2 separate regions of the Homo sapiens genome follow, and region 2 is linked to region 1. The links are contacts of gene promoters, found by promoter capture Hi-C in human tissues and cell types (Jung and others, 2019). All regions are on one chromosome and are shown on one strand. The core of a region is centred on a gene start or on the middle of the fragment in contact, and the rest is flanking DNA. Distances in the headings are between cores, read along the strand shown.

What was found. Contacts are between HindIII fragments. The study calls those that stand out against the background at their distance.
Region 2: a contact is called between a fragment that was not itself captured here and the fragment with the promoter of HUS1B in region 1, in 1 of the 25 tissues and cell types used here (lymphoblastoid cells).

Annotation. Positions count from the first base shown.
Region 1 is chr6:655,626-658,553 of GRCh38, forward strand. HUS1B (HUS1 checkpoint clamp component B) reads right to left here and starts at 1,475. Exons shown (of 1, transcript NM_148959.4): 1 at 314-1,475. The coding sequence starts at 1,319. The coding sequence ends at 483. The region is part of intron 1 of EXOC2 (exocyst complex component 2); the gene reads right to left. The HindIII fragment of the contact is 15,216 bases long and covers 1-2,928 here.
Region 2 is chr6:238,989-241,867 of GRCh38, forward strand. No RefSeq gene overlaps it. Among named protein-coding and RNA genes, the nearest start is that of LINC03066, 35 kb to the left of the region's middle. The HindIII fragment of the contact is 4,073 bases long and covers 1-2,879 here.

The DNA.
Region 1 (2,928 bases), core at 225-2,724:
ACACGGCTTAACAAAGAATATGTAATGCACACACATGCTAAATACCTTTTATCTTGCAGATATATTTAGCTCTCTACATAAGAAATGCCCTCGGAAAACATTCATACATATTTTAAAAGGAGAACTTTCCCGCTTTACACAGCAGCATTTTATAATAAAATACTGATGCAATTGTTTCAGGATTCAAAAATACTTATTTCATTACAACCCTGTTTTTCCCCCCCGAAAAAAAGAGTTGAAGAATAACTTTGATAGAATCTTAAGCAGGAAAAAAACCTGACAAACCCAATAAACAAAACATGAACTACCCAACTGTTTTACCAATGCTTTAATATAAATTTTGCAAAGGAGGAAGGGCTCAACAAAATATACGCCCTGCATAAGTCAGTGAAGGTCCAAATTTTCAACCCAATTAACTCAGGGTCTGTTTTAGTTTTGAAAAGATCAAAACCTTAAAAAAAAAATCTAAGCTGGCTGAATTTTTACAAGGCAGGAATGAAATACTGAAGAGAGACATCTTCTTGAACCAAAACAAGCTGAAGAAGAGTATTGTCCCAAATATTGCACAGGGCCGTCGTAGGATGTATTTGCTGTCCCTCCAAAAACTGCAGAAGCTTCCGATTGTCCACCCGCACTTGCACCATGCTCTCCAGGTCTCTGTTTTCAGGCACACCCACAGCCGACTGGGGAGGGTTTCCAAGATTTTTAAAATAACTTTGAATGGACACCACCTCCGTCTCTATACTCAGGGTCATCCTGCCACTGAGGTTTGCTTCCACCAGCACGTGACTGCCCACGTTCGCCATCCTCTCCACGATGCTCCTCAGCGTCCTCCAGCGCGGCAGGCGGATGCTCGCGTCGGAGGCGCGCAGGCTGGGCGGCAGGCAGTCCCGCCACACTCTCCTGGGAAGCACCCGCACGGGCAGATCGTGCACCACGCTGCGAGCGCGGCCCAGGGACGAGACCAGCTCCACCGCCACCGTGAGGGAGGGGCGGCGCTTGTGGGTCAGCTGCAGCTTCAGGGAGGACGCGCCCGCTGCGCTTCTCGCCGCCCGGGACAGGTGCTCCGCCGTCAGCTCCAGGTGGATCTCATCGAGATCTTCCGAGACACCTTCCATGCGAAACTGCTGGAAGGCCCCCTGCCGCACCTCGCACCACAGCCTGGCCTCGTGGAGGCCGCCGGAACCCGCGGGGCCGAAGCACAGGCTGTCAGGGCGCACGCGGAGCACGCAGACCTTCGCTAGCCTCGCGACGGTGCCGCTGACGTGAATGAACAGCTCTAGACAGCCTTTGCCGGTGATCTTGGCGCGAAACTTCATGATGCCACAGGGAAGGCAGCTGGGGGCCTCTGAGGGGGATTCCGCGTGCCACAAGCCCTTCCGGTCCGCTGGGGTCCGTGGCGCTGCCCTCCCCGCCCTCCCTCCGGCCCCCCAGCTAGGCAGGCACTCGGGTTCCCGGTTGCGGTTGCGGGTTCTGTTGTGGGTTCCGCAGCCCTAGGCCTGGAGCCACGGAAGGGCCTCCCAACGCCCGTTCTCACCTTCCCTCCAGCCCTCTCACAAAATGCTTCCGTTTCCACTCCGGTTATAAGAAGAGTAGGCATTCCACTGCTGAAACTTCTTAGTATTCTAAACACAATGAAGACAAAATCATCACTCAGATAAAGAACCACTTTTAATCTCTTTGGTATATACACTGATTCCATCTTCATCAATCGGCATATAAGAAGATATAGTTCCACGTGTCTTATGAAATCATAGCATACCAGGCATACATTTTACAACCTCATCTTCACACTTAAATATGTAACAGGCACCTTTCCATGCTGGTGAAACAAATCTACACCATCTTCATGGCTGCTCACTTTTCCAGTGTATGGAGTTATAACACAAATGACATTTGGATGATTTCCAATTTTTTGCTATTATGAACACAATGAATATTTTTGTACAAAATAGTTTTGCCCATTTACCCAACTATTTCCTTGCATTAAATTCAGAAGTGAAGTGCTGGTCAATGAATGCACTTTTAAAATCCTAATAAATATTCTCAGACTGGCCTGCAGAAAGCTACATGAACACTCTAGCCCACCAGCAACACTGGGTAGTAGCAATCTGTTTTACCTGTAGCACTCTGGCAGGCAAAAAAAAAAAAAAAAAATTCAACTTGCACTGTGTGTGAATTCCATCTTATGCCCTTTGCATCTTTTTACTGAGTTTATTTTTCTTGATTTTAAGATATCTAGCAAGAACATTAACCCTCTGTCCATTACATGTACTGTAAATATCTTCCCCAGTTTATCATGTGACTTTTCACACTGTTTTTGGTATTCTTTGCCCTTGGGAAATACTGAGTATTTTCATGTCAAACCTATTGACCTTTTCTCTACTACTTCTAGGGTCATGCTTTCAAAGTCCTGTTTCTGGTACTTTAATGTTATCTGTTTTTATGACTTAGTTGTTTGACTCAGTTGAAATCTTTTTTGGAGTACCGAATGCCTAGCTGATACACATAATTCACTAAACAATCCACTTCTCCACTAACCTGAAATGTCAATTTTGTTTTAGACAAAAATTCTCATTTTTGCTTGAATGTTTCCTGGCCCTCTCTATATTTTCTCCCACTGCCCTATCTTGAACCTGTACCAGTGATTTAATTTCTGTATTATATTTCAATATCGAATAGGACAATCTTTCAGAACTTCTCTCATTCTCTCACAGATACTGCTCCAGATGAATTCTAAAATATTTTGTCAGAGTCTAAAAATAATCTTCCTGGAATTCTGATGGGAATTATCACCAGCCTGATATAGTACATACTTAGACTTCTTTGTTTGCCGTCTAGCTCTAACCACAATGATGTAAGTTAGAGGAGTTCTTATCTGTTCCATACACTGCTGTACACCCAGCATTTAGAACAGTATTTGCCATG
Region 2 (2,879 bases), core at 177-2,676, 420 kb before region 1:
CCCAGGAGGCGGAGGTTGCAGTGAGCTGAGATCGTGTCACTGGGAGACAGAGTTAGACTCTGTCTCAAAAAAAAAGAAAAGAAAAGACACAAAGGCACACTCTTATTTTATGAATAAATGTCTCCTCAGTCAGAGGCAGATGCTTGTCCATACGCTGCAGTTACCACTGTGAGTGGCAGTGAAGACGCACCAGAGGCACAGCCCTGTTAGTCATTCTAGGGCTGGTTTTTGTCCATCCCTAAGACTGCAGTTCATTAGATGAAGTTGAAATAGCTCCTTACTGTGGAACTACGAAGAGAAGTAACCGCCTCACTCGGCTTGCTGGTCTAGTGCTGGAGAACGAGGTTATAGGTGTATCTTTGACCACTGTGGGACGTGGGCCCTCATCTTCCAGAGGGACAAAAATTACAAGATCTCAGAGTTGCCTCGGGATTGTTGAAAGATCAAAATCAGACAATGGGCCAGTGCAGGGTATTGTTATCACTGGGTGTCAGGAGCTGATGGCTACCAGAATTTAAATGAAGGGCCTTCAGAATGAACGCTGTTGACAATGCCATCGATCGTTTCCCTCCTTCTGAGTCCACCCTTGACGAGGGCCACAGCCTGGCTTCTGTCATAGAACTCCCATGGTACTTTCCATGAAGTTAAGAAAGTCATTGTACACCTCCCAGCACTTTTATTTCTGCTGAATAAAATCTCCCTCTCCTGGCCTTGGAAACTGCTACAGCTCACTAACCCTCTATCCTCAGAAACAGCCCTTCCAGCAACGCTGGCGGGCACCTGCCCATATCCTCAGGGAATTCCACTGGACTTTCCCAGTTCCTCCCTGGCCTCACGCCATTTTCACTGCATTCGTGTTTAGCACGTGCTTTATTCTCTCCCAGTTACACAGAGTTTCATGGAAAATCTCATGACAGTTTTTGGAATTGGGTTGATTGATAGGGCCATCCTTGGGAGAAGACGTGGTTGGCAATTGGTAAATTGGGGCAAACGTCGAACTCATTTAAATATTTTTTAACCTGTTGCTGTCTTTCACATTTTTCTCCTGAGAATCATATAACCTTAGAGCTGGAATGATCCACTCTCTCATTTTATGATGAGAAAACGGAAGCTTAGAGAAATGAATTGGCCTGGACTGAAGGATTAAACAACTAGTTAGTGTGGGAGCCAAGGCAGGAATCTAAGTCTCCTCCTCTCCAGTCAAGAACTTCTGGCCTCCAACATCCTCTTGAGCTCACATCTCAGAAGAGTGACATAATGTCCTCTCCCTGGGACCTCTATGTAGCCTCCACGTGGTCTAGGCTCTTGAGGTGCTCGGCTGGTACCCTTGCCCAGAGCAGAGAGTGAGGCAGACTGAGCCAGGGAGCAGGCAGGTGCTGGGGAGCCAAGGAGCCTCAGCGGGATGCCTTCCCAACTTACCACTGTTGTCATTCCAGAGCCCAGCTCACTTTGTCATTTTAAAGGCCATTTGTTAAACTCCCTTAGTCAATCCCATAGCCCCATTTTTCTTGTTTCCCTGTGGCACTTGACTAGGAGTTAAAAAATAGTAACATTAAAGACAGACCAACTATTCCTATTCTTGGACCAAGTTCCAGGAGCTGTGTTTTCCAGAGCAGGGAATCAAGGAAAATCAATATGACCTGAGTAGAGTAGACGAGCAGTTTCCCACTCCTGGAAACCTGGGGCTGGTACCAGGTCCAGGGCATGCGCTCCAGAATAGGCAGGCGGAACCTCTGAGATGCAGCCGAGGTACCATCGCTCCTGTGGGCAACTTCCTCTATAAAAAATATTTAAAAGTATTTTACTGCTGCGCTGATAAAATGACAGATGTAATTGAGATGGGATTCATTATTATATATTCATGATTATTATGTATATTTTTCTTCTGATTTTAAAAGGAATAAAGATTAAGCTTTTTTTTTTTTTTTTCTTTTTTGGGACGGAGTTTCGCTCTTGTTGCCCAGGCTGGAGTGCAGTGGTGCGATCTCAGCTCACTGCAACCTCTGCCTCCCAGGTTCAAGCGATTCTCCTGCCTCAGCCTCCTGAGTAGCTGGGATTACAAGCGTGTACCACCGCGCCCGGCTAATTTTGTATTTTTAATAGAGTCGGGGTTTCTCCATGTTGGTCAGGCTGGTCTCTAACTCCCGACCTCAGGTGATCCGCCCGCCTTGGCCTCTCAAAGTGCTGAGATTTACAGGCTTGAGCCACTGCACCCGGCCAAGATTAAGCATTTCTGAGGCTTCCGAATGCAGCCTGGGTCCCAGGCACCCTGTGCTTCCTGTGCCAGAGGGCAAAGTCGGCTTGCATCAGAACCAGATGAGCTGCGGGCACATCCTGCCTCTTCGTGGCATCCTGAGTTCCCAGAACCTCTGTTTCCTTCTCTCTAGAATAAGGATTGCCCAGGGCTACTGTGAGGATGGGCAGAGATCACATATATAAAAGAGAGCATCCTCTCATCCCTCCCTCACCTCCCACCTTTTCATGGGAGACTAGTCTGCAGCATTTCTTGTCTGCACAAACTCTTGGATTTGTTGCTTCTGAAATTGGAGACAAGCCACGGGTTAAGGGCACAGTCATTAGCAAGATCAGTTTTCCTCCTTCTCAGCTAACTTTTCTCTCTCTGCACAGCACTCCCTCTGCTCTGGTCGACATGTGCACAGCTGCACTGAAACTTCTCTCTGGTGACCGCCACTCCCTCCAAATAGCCTCACAGTGCCCCCACTGTTGCACACACTCAAGCTACCGCCCAGCTAGAATAATCCACCTTGGGCATCTTTTAAAAAATGCTCTAAAGGAAAGTGCTATCTCATCCCTGAGCAATGGAGGAGGAATATATGTTTCAATTAATAGTAAAACGACCAAGACTGATGCATCCTATA